Linked DNA regions of Homo sapiens: region 1 is linked to region 2. The links are contacts of gene promoters, found by promoter capture Hi-C in human tissues and cell types (Jung and others, 2019). All regions are on one chromosome and are shown on one strand. Each heading gives the region's core, a stretch centred on a gene start or on the middle of the fragment in contact. The rest is flanking DNA. Distances are from core to core; before and after follow the strand shown. Region 1 has its middle 29 kb from the start of RGS5-AS1. Region 2 holds the start of RGS4 (regulator of G protein signaling 4).

Evidence for each region. The method cuts DNA at HindIII sites, captures the fragments that hold promoters and counts their contacts. A contact is called where the count stands out against the background at its distance.
Region 1: a fragment that was not itself captured here is called in contact with the fragment with the promoter of RGS4 in region 2 in 1 of the 25 tissues and cell types used here (heart right ventricle).

What each region holds. Positions count from the first base shown.
Region 1 is chr1:163,129,350-163,135,894 of GRCh38, forward strand. No RefSeq gene overlaps it. Among named protein-coding and RNA genes, the nearest start is that of RGS5-AS1, 29 kb to the right of the region's middle. RefSeq lists an enhancer at 2,483-3,057. The HindIII fragment of the contact is 4,926 bases long and covers 1,504-6,429 here.
Region 2 is chr1:163,067,817-163,074,704 of GRCh38, forward strand. It overlaps RGS4 (regulator of G protein signaling 4), which reads left to right and starts at 1,545. Exons shown (of 5, transcript NM_005613.6): 1 at 1,545-1,712; 2 at 4,579-4,683; 3 at 4,989-5,050; 4 at 5,640-5,806; 5 at 6,505-6,888. The coding sequence starts at 1,669. The coding sequence ends at 6,744. It overlaps LOC124904446 (a long non-coding RNA gene), which reads right to left and starts at 5,640. Exons shown (of 2, transcript XR_007066703.1): 1 at 5,562-5,640; 2 at 5,182-5,461. The HindIII fragment of the contact is 8,323 bases long and covers 1-4,247 here.

The DNA.
Region 1 (6,545 bases), core at 2,717-5,216, 64 kb after region 2:
ACGTAATAGAATAAAATTGGCCCTTGACCTTATACCATAAACAAAACTTTACTTGAAATGAATTAAAGACTTAAATATAAGACACTAACTTGTAACACTCCTAAAAGAAAACTAAGAACAAAGCTCCTGGACGTTGGTCTGGACAGTGACTTCTTGGACATGACACCAAAAGCACAGGCAACAAAAAGCAAAAATAAACAAATGGGACCACATCAAACTAAAAAGTTTCTGCACAGCAAAGGAAGCAATCAACAAAATTAAAAGGCAACCATTGAAATGGTAAAAATATATGTCATTATTTTAGAGATAATGTACTAGGCAAAAGGAGTCAATCTTAATTTGGAAGGGTATTGTCAGAATATCTCCATTAATCAGTGACCCTTCAGTTGAGCCTTTAAAGAATGGCTCACCTGGGAGAAGATGGAGAAAGTTCATGCAAGTAAGGAGAATGCATTGCATGAGGAGTGAGGAGAGTAAGAGTGATTGTTTGCAGTGCAGCACCTGTTTAACTCATTCAAGTAGGAGGTAAATGGTAGTGACAATGTAGTATGGATATACCATGAAATTCATCTACTGTGCTGCACTATACAGGGAGGGCCATTTGGGGCCCCCTCCTTGAGGATTCCACAGTCATGAGCTCTAGCATGTCACTTATCACATTATGTTGGAACTGTTTATACATATATCTTTCCAAATAAATGCCAAGCTCCTTGGAAATCAGGGATTGGATTTACTTCATATCTGTATTCCTAACTTGCATAGGACTTGGCACATGGTTGGCATTCAATAAAGGCATGTATATTAAACAACTGTGATGAATGCTACACTTGAGTTCAGAACAAAGTGTTAAAGTGCAGAAAAGCATGAAGCCACTGGCTTTGCTGAGTGTTGGCAAAGGTTTCCTAAGCAGTAATATCCATAATGATCAGATCAAAATCTTTTTGTTTATCCTACTAGACTGCAACTTTCTAAAATAAAATGTTTTAGGCATAATGTGACTTATTCCATAGATGCCTCAGGATCTAGAAAATTCAGCTGCTTGTCTCTTGAAGCTTAGGAATGCATGTTTCTACAGCTGCTGACTTGTTAACATTACTAGGGTTATATGAACTTGGCCTGTCTGGGTTGAGTTACAGCTGGGCTGGAAGAAATATATTTTCTAAACTCAAAATCAGAACACATAGTCTGACAAGTGCATTTCTGGAAAAAACAGAGTAAGATATTTAAAATGGCAACTGTCTTGGAAAATCTCTGTAACCTCCAGTTGCTATTAGCATAGCCTATTACTTACTTGTGCCTAAGAATGTGTGAATCCCTTTGATTCCTGTGGGATATAGTCTGTGGTTGATAAGAGTGAAATTGGAGCTGGATAGGATTCAGTGGAATAGTGAATAAATGAGGAATATCAACAAAAAGTGGATAGGAAGGGAAAAAAGAACAGGCACTCTGCACATAAAAATTACACGTTTTCTAAAATAAGTAAAAGAGAAAATACAGGGCTTCTTCAGTGTAAAATAACTTTGTTTGACGATCAAAAAAAAAGGCGTAATAAAATTAAGAGAGGAAAGAATGGAAAACAATAAACTCAGTGTTGATAGCTCCCAAGGATCCAACTTGGCTCCTTTCTAGCTGCATGAACATGGAATTATCACTGACTCTCTCTGAGGTTTAGTTCCTGATATGGGTCTTGATGTTTGTCTCCTCCAACTCTCATGTTGAAATTTAACCCTTGATATTGGGGATAGGACCTGGTAGGAGGTGTTTCGGTCAGGGGGAAGACATCTCATGAATGGCATGTTGCCCTCCTTATGGTAGTGAGTGAGTTCTCATTCTATTAGTTCACGTGAGAGCAGGTTGTTTAAAGAGCCTGGCATCTCCTCCCTTCTCTCTCTCTTTCTCCTGATTTTGCCATGTTATGTGCCTGCTTCTGCTTCATCTTCTGCCATGATTGAAAGCTTCCTGAGGCTCTCACCAGAAGCTGAGCAGATGTTGGTGCCATGCTTGTGTAGCCTGCAGAACTGTGAGCCAATTAAACCTCTTTTCTTTATAAATTACTCAATCTCAGGTATTTACAGTAATGCAAAAAGCAGACTAATACAGAAAACTGGTACTGAGAAGTGGGGCATTGCTATAAAGATACCTAAATATGTGGAAGCAGCTGTGGAACTGGGTAACAGGCAGAAATTGGAAGAGTTTGGAGGGCTCAGAAGAAGATGGGAAAACCAGGGAAAGTTTGGGATTTCTTAGAGACTTTTTCAATGATTGTGACCCAAATGCTGATAGAAGTATGGACAGTGAAGGTCAGGCTGAGGAGGTCTCAGATAGAAATGAAGAAGTTATTGGGAACCAGAGCAAAGGTCTCCCTTGTTATGCCCTAGCAAAGAGCTTAACTGAATTCTGTCCACATCTTAGGGATTTGTGGAAGTTTAAACTTAAGATTGATGACCCAGCTTATCTGGCAAAAGAAATTTATAAGTAGTAAATCATTCAAGAAGTGACCTGACCGCTTCTAACAGCCTATAATCATATATGGGAGTGAAGAAGTTACTTAAAGATTTATATTTAAAGGGGAAGCAGACCATAAAACTTTGGAAAATTTGAAGCCTGATCACATGGAAGAGAAAGAAAAAGCATTTTCAGGAGAAAAATACAAGTAGGATTCAGAGCACTCACTTGCTAGAGAGATTAGCATGACTAAAAGAGAGCCATTTCTAATATCCAAGACAATGGGAAAAAGGCCTTGAAGCCAATTAGAAGTCTTCAGGAAAGCCCCTCCCATCACAGGCCTAGAAGCCTTGGAGAAAAGAATGGTTTTGGCAGCCAGGCCTAGGGGGCCACTTCACTGCTCAGCTGCAGGACACTGTTCCCTCATCCTGGCTGCTCTAGCTCCCGCTGTGGGTCAAAGGGGCCTAGATACAGCTTGGGCTGCAGCTTTGGAGAGTGAAAGCCACCATAAGCCTCGGCATCTTTCACATGGTGTTACATCTGATGGCTTGCAGAATGCAACAGTGAAGGAGGCTTGGCAGCTTCCATCTAAATTTCAGAGTATGTATCAGAAACCCTGCCACAGAAGCAGAGTCCCCATGGAGAGACTCTACTAGGACAGCACCAAGAGGATCTGTGGGGTAGCCCCTAAATAGAGTCCCCCACTAGAACACTCCCTATTTGAGCTGTGGGAAGGGGGCAACCACCCTCCAAATGGTAGAGCCATTGGCGGCTTGCATTTGGAACCTACAAAAGCCTTAGGCATTCAATTCCAACCTGAGAGAGCAGCCATGGGGCCTGCACCCTGCAAAACTAAAGGAGCAGAGCTACCCAAGGTTTTGGGTGCTCACCTCTTGCACCAATGTGCCCTGGATGTGGACATTGAGTCAAAGGAGATGATTTTGGAGCTTAAAGATTTAATGACTACCCTGCAGAGTTCCAGATTTGTGTGGGGCCTATTGCACCTTCTTTTATGAATTTCTGTCTTTTGGAATGAGAATGTATATCCAATGCCTGTACCACCATTGCATCTTGGAAGTAAATAACTTGGTTTTGATTTTACAGGTTCATAGGCGGAAGGAGCTTGCCTTGAGTTTCAAATGAGACTTTGGAATTGATGTTGGCATGAATTAAGACTTTAGGGGACTCTTGGGAAGATATTACTGTATTTTGCAATGGGAGGAGGATGTGAGATTTGGAGGGCCAAGGGCAGGATGATATGGTTTGGATGTTTGTCTTCTCCAAACCTCATGTTGAAATGTAATCCCTAGTGTGGAAGGTGAGGTCTGGTGAGTGGTGTTTGGGTCAGGGGAATACCTCATGAATGGTGTGCTGCCCTCCTCATGGTAATGAGTGAGTTCTTATTTCATTAGTTCACACGAGAGCTGGTTGTTTAAAGAGCCTAGCACTTCCTCCCTTCTCTCCCTCTTGCTTCTGATCTTGCCATGTTATGTGCCTGCTCATACTTCATCTTCAGCCATGATTGGAAGCTTCCTGAGGCTCTCACCAGAAACTGAGCAGATGTTGGTGCCATGCTTGTACAGCCTGCAGAACCATGAGCCAATTAAAGCTCTTTTCTTTATAAATTACTCAGTATCAGGTATTAATTTATAGTAATGCAAAAATGGAATAATACAGTTTCTCATAAGAAAAATGGAGTAAAAATTCTTGTCTCATAAAATCACATGTGCAAGATATCTGGCATAGTATCCAACAAGAATATAAGCAAATTAAATTTGAAGTAAGAGGAATTTCTACCATAGAAATTAGAAAGAAGTAGTAGAAAGGACTCAAGTAGTAAAAAGAGGAAGTTCAGAAAAAGATAGCAAAGATTAAGCCCAAGAATAAATGATATAAACATATCAAAAAAATAAAATTGTGGAACATCAGAGACAGATTAGCTACAAAGACTCTGAAGGAAGAGAAACTGGACTTTGAAAGCTAATGAAATTACAAATGTAGAAATGATTTGGAAATGTAAAGGAAACATCCAGATGTATGAAGTCATTAAATACTAAAGTGAGACAACCATGAACAAAATGAGACAATATTAGGCTTCCATAAGTGGACATTAAAGCATAACCTCAAATGTTAGTAAAGAGCTCCAGACTTTGAGGAAACAAGAGTGGCAGATGGTCCAGCTGGCTGTAATCTGAGATCAAACACCTTTTTTAAACAAAGAAAGCTAGGCAAAGTCTTTGTATGCAAGCCTGAATGGCAGACTAAAGAACAGTCCTTCACATATGTGCTACTCTATCTTTCTCTTTTTTCTTAACCACTTAGATAAACTTTGAACCTGTTAGTGTTAATCTCTAATGAGAAGGATTTATTATTATTATTACTATTATTATTATTTTTAGAGCTGGGGCTTTGCTCTGTCACCCACACTGGAATGCAGTGGTACAATCATAGGTTACCACAGCCTTGAACATCTGGGCTCAAGCAGTCCTCCTGCCTCAGCCTCCTGAACAGCTAGGACTACAGGCACCCACCACCACACCCAGCTAATTTTTATTTTTTATAGAGATAGGGTCTTGCTATGTTTCCCAGGCTGGTTTCAAACTCCTGGCCTCAAGCATTCCTCCCACCTCAGCCTCCCAAAATGCTGGGATTACAGGAATGAGAAACTGTGCCCAGCAAGAATAACTCTAAAAGATTTTATATATATATACATATATATGTGTGTGTGTATATATATATATTTCATATATAAAATATATATTATCTAATATATACGTATTAGAGAAATGCAAATCAAAACCACAATGGGATACCATATGTATAGTATACATACACACACATTTATACCACAGATCTCCAATACAGAGCACACAGATGTCACCCAAGATTTTTTTCTGTCTCTATCACTGGCCCTGAAAAGGTTCTATAATGCTGAGTTTGTTAGCAGCACGCTGCAGAATCTGGTATAAGGAAGGAACTCCAGAGCTGGAGGTGGAGACCCATGCTCTAGGCTCAGCTCTGCCAGTACTATCCATGTGACTTTGCCAAGTCCCTTAAATTTTCTGAGTTTCAGACTTCTTATGTGTAAAATGAGCACTTGAATCCTATCTACTTTAACCAAGTCACAGAGTTGCGAAGATGATCAAGTGAAATACCATAGGGAAAAGTTACACAAAGAGTAGTTATTATTAGGTCATCGAGAAGACTGTGGTACTGAGGAGGCCAAAGCATCTGCAGTAGATGTCCAGTAGAACAGCTAACTGACCATAATTCTGTGTCAACTGGCTAAGTTATGTTCTAGGCTTTCAGAGCACAAGAACACCAGGAATAAGGCATGGTTCTATGTCTTTTTCTAGCTCACACTTAGGAAATGGCAGAAGGAAGGAGGTAGTGGGACAGAAATAAGGACATATTACTGCTGTCTCTCCTGGTGATACCTATTGCTTACTTTCTCTGATCATGTCCTAATGATTTACACCAGGAAGATAAAAAAGGAAGCAAATTGGCCTGGATGAGGATTTGAGAAAATAGCCTTATTTTACAGGTTAGAAAACCTTTTTCTTTATTTTATTTCATTTGCTCCTCATCACCTCACTGTGTTATAGAAATCTAGGTAGTTCCATTTTTGCAGATGAACAAAAAGAGGTTCAGGGAGTTAAGTTACTTGTGCTGCCCAAGATCACATAGAGAAAGAATCTACCCTACAACTAAAATTTTGTGACTCTGAGCCACATAATACTAATCCAGCTAGAGGGAGATGATGGTGGTAATTAGAAAAGCCATTCTTCCAGCCCTAAAGCCTCATATTACCTATACGCCATTTTTTTTTTTTTTTAGTTTTATTTTAAGTTCTGGGGTACATGTGCAGGATGTGCAGGTTTGTTACATAGGTAAATGTGTGCCATGATGGTTTGCTGAACCTATTAACCCATCACCTAGGTATTAAGCTCAGCATGCGTTAGTTATTTTTCCTAATGCCCTCCCTTCCTCCAACCCCACCCCGACAGGCCCCCAGTGTGTTGTTCCCCTCCCTGTGTCCATGTGTTCTCACTGTTCAGCTCCCAATTATAAGTGAGAACATCCAGCGTCTGGTTTTCTGT
Region 2 (6,888 bases), core at 295-2,794:
CATTCATTTGTTCTATGTTATAATTCAAGGAAAAGTTGCCCAGTAGCTAATCCAATAAATGCCCTCTTATGGGCGGCTAGAGACTTTTTCCTATAATTTAAATGCATCTTCTGTAGATTATGGTCCCTCCACCACTTTACATTTGTCTGCTGTCTCCTTGCTCTGCTAGTCATGGAACGTGTTGGTAGTGGGGGCAGTGTGGGATGTTCAAGGGCACGTATTGGGTAGGGCCACATATGGGCATTGCTTTGTGCCATTCTTTCTATATTTTTGGTATTTTGCATCTCACTGGAACCCAACTATTTTTCATCTCTTCCACCTAAACTATTTGATGCCTCTGTTTCTTATATATAAAGTATAGCTCACTGTAGCCTATGATCAGGAACCTATCTGCTTTCTAAATGAAAGCTGTTTTGGTCAGATCTAGCAATTAATTCCCTTCTTCCACTTATAGCTTTCCTCTGTAACTCTGGTGTAGGTATTTGGTTTATGGCTATAAGATGTGAAACACCTGAATGATTCTGTCCATGCAGGCATTTCAGTTCATGATATTGTATGTAAAAGATACTGATTGTCTAGGTGTTCAGAAACACCTATAGGGCTTAATATTCTTACAATCAGTTTGAAGGCTGGTGATACGCAAAGCAAACTACATATTTTTCTGCCTGCTCTCTCTCTTTCTCTCTACATCTCTCTTTCTTTATCTTTTGAAATATCAGTTTGGAGACTTAGAATTACATAAGACATAAACCCATTTGATATAAGAATTGCTGTGTATATTTGCTCATCTACTCCCTCCTTTGGTCCTCGAGCTGCCGGTTTAGACTTTTTACAGGACGCAGGCATGTGAAGGAGAAACTGTCAGTGCTAGGCTGAATTCTGTTGTTACCAAGATTTCTAGAAAAGTATTCCTCAGTCAGGTTGATTACAGATATAGCAAATCTATTTTTCCTAGGGTAGTTTCTGTATGCTGCCGGGCTTATAACTGTCTGTCATCCAGCTATTTCTCTCCACCTTCTTGTTTGCATAACAACCAAGGCAACTTCCGCAAATCACTGCGTGGAGACGATGATCCTGCCAGCTCCCTTTTGGAAATCGTGAGGATCAGATCTTGGACCATGTATAATATGATGCTTCTAATCCAAAAGAGGAAAGGCATTGGGAGTCAGCTCCTAAGTAAGCTCCAGAATTCCTGCTGGTACTTTTCCTTCCAGGAAGCAACTTCCTTGATATTTTTTTTTTACAGGCATATGAATAAAAACTATATTTTGCAGCATTGTACACTTTTTTTCCTTTTCTAGAAATTCTAAACCTCTGACATTGGTGGAGACATTGAGTACATTTTTTCCCATATCCCTACTTTTCAGAAGGATTTTCTCTGCTCGTTCACTTAACATTGCTGATGCGTCAGTCTTTTCTTCCTCATCTCTTTCAGGGGCTGGAGAGGCAGAGGGAGACAGAGGAGCTGGTACTGCAGAGCGGTCGTCTGATTGGCTGGACGGTCGTAGCTGGGCTATAAAAGAGACCCCTACAGGCTTAGCAGGAAGACGCTCAGAGGATTCTGACAATATCTTTACCGGAGAAGAGGCAAAGTACGCTCAAAGCCGAAGCCACAGCTCCTCCTGCCGCATTTCTTTCCTGCTTGCGAATTCCAAGCTGTTAAATAAGATGTGCAAAGGGCTTGCAGGTCTGCCGGCTTCTTGCTTGAGGAGGTAAGATTGCTTTCAGCCATTAACCATATTAAACTTTTGGCTAGACTTTCTCAGTTATTTACATGTTGTACTTACTAACCTAGTTCTGTGCAATTAGAAACAGTGTGGTCAGGAGAGCACGACTTTCTAACTTTCCTCCAAGACTAGCTAGATATTGTGACTTAAGACATGTGCTCCCCAAATTTCAGCCCTTATGTGTTGTTTTGTGTGACCTCAGTTTTGAGAACTGTTCTATTCTTTAAGCCAGGTCTAAGAAAGCTAGTTTTAATTAAGAAGCGAGATGAGGTTTGAGGCTATGTACAGTGATCTGTAATATCTCCATCTGTGATTACTACTGCTATTTGAGCATCCCTGGAGTACATAGAAGCCTGGCTCTGGGCTTTCTGATTGTATGCTACAACTTGTTTCAGGAAAGGTACCCCAGAATGAGGTTTGGCTCCATCATCAGAAAGGCACTATGCTTTCCGTGTGGTGGTGCAGTAACTTTCACTCTCTATGTTCTTATAAGCAAATGTTACAATGAGATATGAGTTTTAAAGCCAGATCTTCCTTATCTCTCTGCCCCATCTCTAGTTCTTGAAGTGTCTCATATGAGTTTGGTTGAGAAATATTGATCATTACAAATCAGTTAATAGTTTTGTAGAAGATCTCATCTTAAAGACATTGTTTTGTTAATATACTCCCTTGATTTTTTTAAAAGACCTTACAGACATACAGCTATTCATTTGTTTTTGGTTTGTTCAAAAAAGGTATAAAGAAATGCATTCAGAGAAAGATCATATATTAGCCAGTTGAAAATTAAACACAAAATGAGTGCATATTACATTACTTAATCTTGCAGTCAAAGGTAAAAAGTCAACCTAAAGGTATACTACCTGCTTTCTTATCGCACTGCAAATAGAAATTACCACAAATTTTATTTTGGAAATAATCTCAGAAAACATAATTTTTTATGTACTATTAAAACATTTACTTTCCAAATATTCTGTCATTCAGGAGTATGGAAGTATCGATGGCTTCTTTAAAATGAAGCAGGAGGGTCTGGCAGAGAGTATCTATGAAATAAGTTCCTCTGACCTTCACGCTTAATTTTCTGAATGGAGTGGAGCAAATTACTTCAAGCTTCACTTAACTTGCATATGAAATGAACCGTACAAAAATACAAGAGTGTCAGGAGAAAGTTATGCTCTGGTAAATATTTTGCAAAACAGATAAAAGATAATACTAGAGCTCTGTCCTCAAAGAGTTAAGCAGCTAATCTAAGGAGGTAAACTCTATGTCAGCAGGATGAACTGCTCTTCCCTTTCCTCCTCAATAAATTGCAAATCATCTAGTCCAACATCTTTACCACCAGTGCCTGAGGCTCCAGAGGAGCCATTGCCTTCTCAAGGTCACATAGGTGGTGGGTGAGTTAGGACCAAATCTAGAATTCCTGACTCCAGTAACTTCTGAAGTCATTTTGTTTTTTATTTTTATGGTTTTATTATAAGAATACTTGCTAAGCACACTTACCCCCTGCATTGATTAATAACTCTAGGATCTCAGGTGGATCCAGCACATAGAAATATGAATTCGTTTCTATTTGGACTTCATGATATATTTACATTATCACCTTGGAATCACCCTAACATTCAGGATTGTATCTTGTTATAATCAAAAAGGATGTTGCATCCCCTGAACAGTCATCAGTCAGGGAAGCAGAGGAGGGAAAGTAATCTTGCGAGGAAGAGAAAATACTATTTAAGGGACAGTCAGAGAACATAATGGAATTCAAACTTTCTGGGAAAACCTACATACATAAATGTATTAGTGGCCATCCTAAATGTCTTTATATCTTTGAGGCTTTATTTTCCCTACTCCAAATAGACACATTTAGTTATTCATTTCTTTTAAAATGGTATTTCTCTTTTTAAACTATTTCTTGACTTTTTTAATAAAAAGAGATGCAAGCAAGAGGATATTTAATAAAAAGTAAGAGAGTTGAGCTTAAGGCTTATTAAAAGACCCCCTTTTTCTAGTTAGTCAGGAGCTCTAATGTGCCCTGGCTACCTATTAAATGGTGGCAATAAACTGGAAGCTCAGTGATGACTCTAGCCTGCTTCTCCTAATAGCTGTTAAGCCTCAAATGCCCTTTAGAGTGTGTATGTCCTTTAAAGTAGCTATTAAGAAGGAAAGCAGCAGCAGCAGATATTGTCTAGAAAGAAGCCCCAAGAAGCTGAGGTTTCAGCTTGGGCATTTGTTTTCGCCATCCCATGCTCCATTTCCCTCTGCTGGAACTGTGCACCTCAGTGTATTCTCCCTCTATACCTCACAGCAGGAACTGCTTGCCCCCCCCCCCCCCCCCCAACATACATGGCTGGAACTGAATAGACTTTTACTTTCCCGAGGTGCTTCTACAGTTCCCTCTGCCAGCAGGGGAACAGATGGAAATAGCAATCACCTGCCAGAAGGTGGCGTGCAGCAAGGATGTGCATCTTTTGCCGCTACTGCTTTCTGATTCCTAAAAATTACTCAGAGATCACTCATGTGTTCAGTGATTCAGGTTCTGTTGAAGATACCAAAGATATTCGGTTGGTCAAAATGACGGGCATATAAAGGCTTCTCAGGTTTCTGAGGTAAACTGAAGGGTCAGAATTCCAGTTGTGGATGAAGGAAATGGTGTTATGACTGCCTCAAGGTTTTGTAGCAAGTCATAGGGAACCAAGAGGAATCTTGTTTTCCTCAGAGGTCATGCCAACTCCAACTCCCGTTCCCTAAACTGTCTCTGAGCCATAGACTAGTAATGGACTCTTCAAGCTCTACCATTAGGTATCTTTTAAAGAAAGCTGGTTATTACTATTTATTCATTTTTTTCTCTTCTGTGCAGTGCAAAAGATATGAAACATCGGCTAGGTTTCCTGCTGCAAAAATCTGATTCCTGTGAACACAATTCTTCCCACAACAAGAAGGACAAAGTGGTTATTTGCCAGAGGTAAGAGAAAAGGCCTTGGTGAAGATGTACTTAGTATTAACTATCTGATGATGGGGATGTTCTGTGAGAAGGAACTTGTGCTCCTAGTTAAGCCAGATTTGGATCAAGATAGCCTCCATTTTCATGGAGATCATAACTACATTTGAAATTTCTATACATTTAGTGAAAAACTGCCCTCATCAATAACATATTTTGTCATAACGATGGAAAATAAAATCTTTGCCTTCATTCAGGATCTTAGATTTCTTGCCCCAATTTTTTTACCATGGCATTCCAATTATTCTGTTTCTCTCTATTTTTTCTAGAGTGAGCCAAGAGGAAGTCAAGAAATGGGCTGAATCACTGGAAAACCTGATTAGTCATGAATGTAAGTCTGACAGCAACCTGGGATGAGGTACTCTGGATAAGACAAGTTATATTATGCTGGTCTAATAGAAACTGCAGCAAGGCCTGGCTTCTTTCTGATGTTCAGACTCAGGAGACTCTTTAGGTCTTAAATTCAGTCTGTTTAAAATTTTAATATGCCCTAGAGCTTTGTGATATACAATGAAAAGTTTATGCAGGAACCATGTGGAAAACCATCTCTCTCATCACAAGGAAAAACGGAAGAGAGAAAAAAAATGATAAATATCAATACCTTCTTGCAAAATCAATCTCAGTTTCTCTTTCCCAAATTGACCTTGGTAATTGATAGCTGCATAGGCATTTCAGAAGCAAAATACTTCCTTGAAAGAGGCTTCCAACTTGAGTAAGAATCATTAGGTAGAACTGGGAACCACTGGATATCAAACACAGATTAGGGTTACCTGACTCCAGGTGACTTGAAAAAAGCAGGGGAAAAAGGGATTGCTTGAATCCATGCTTTATCCCCCAAGTACCTCAGCTTTATGTGAAATAGCATATCCAAGAGGCCAACCAGTGTGATGACAACTGTGGTCCTTTCTCCTGTATCATAGGTGGGCTGGCAGCTTTCAAAGCTTTCTTGAAGTCTGAATATAGTGAGGAGAATATTGACTTCTGGATCAGCTGTGAAGAGTACAAGAAAATCAAATCACCATCTAAACTAAGTCCCAAGGCCAAAAAGATCTATAATGAATTCATCTCAGTCCAGGCAACCAAAGAGGTAGGTTTTTTATGGATACATAAAAATTGTACGTATTTATGGAGTATGTGTGATATTTTGATACATGCATACAATGTGATAACAATCAAATCAGGGCAATTGCTATATACATATCTCAAACATTTATTATTTCTACGTGTTGAGAACATTCCAAATCTCCTCTTCTAGCTATCTTAAAATATACAATAAACTATTGATAACTATATCACCCTAATGTGCTATCAAACACTAGAACCTATTCCCTCTACCCAACTTTCTATCTATTCCTTCTACCCATTAGCCAACCTGACCAAAAAGGTAAGCTTTTATGGCAGAGAACTCTCTGGATCTTAGTGAAGGTTCCTAGAATAGTGGAGCTGACTATCATAATCTTGACAACCCCAAATAAATCAGTTTTTTAAAAAATCTCTTTTATCCATGTGGCTTACCATAACCTCCCTGCATGAATTTTTCTGATGAATCTCCCCAATTTGTTAGACAGAACAGAAGATCTTGCCCTGCTCTCTCTAAAGCAGAAAGGTTCATTCTGAACCTTTCATACTCTCTCACATGTGCCAAGGAGGACCCCAATGTCACTTTTGTTTTTTGCTTCTGAAATACAGAGGGTGCACTGCCACTTACAAGTCACTACAAAGCATACAGGCTTGCATCCTCAACAGGGATATAGGTCTAATGAAGCCTTGGCCTTTGCCCCTCAGGTGAACCTGGATTCTTGCACCAGGGAAGAGACAAGCCGGAACATGCTAGAGCCTACAATAACCTGCTTTGATGAGGCCCAGAAGAAGATTTTCAACCTGATGGAGAAGGATTCCTACCGCCGCTTCCTCAAGTCTCGATTCTATCTTGATTTGGTCAACCCGTCCAGCTGTGGGGCAGAAAAGCAGAAAGGAGCCAAGAGTTCAGCAGACTGTGCTTCCCTGGTCCCTCAGTGTGCCTAATTCTCACCTGAAGGCAGAGGGATGAAATGCCAAGACTCTATGCTCTGGAAAACCTGAGGCCAAATATTGATCTGTATTAAGCTCCAGTGCTTTATCCACATTGTAGCCTAATATTCATGCTGCCTGCCATGTGTGAGTCACTTC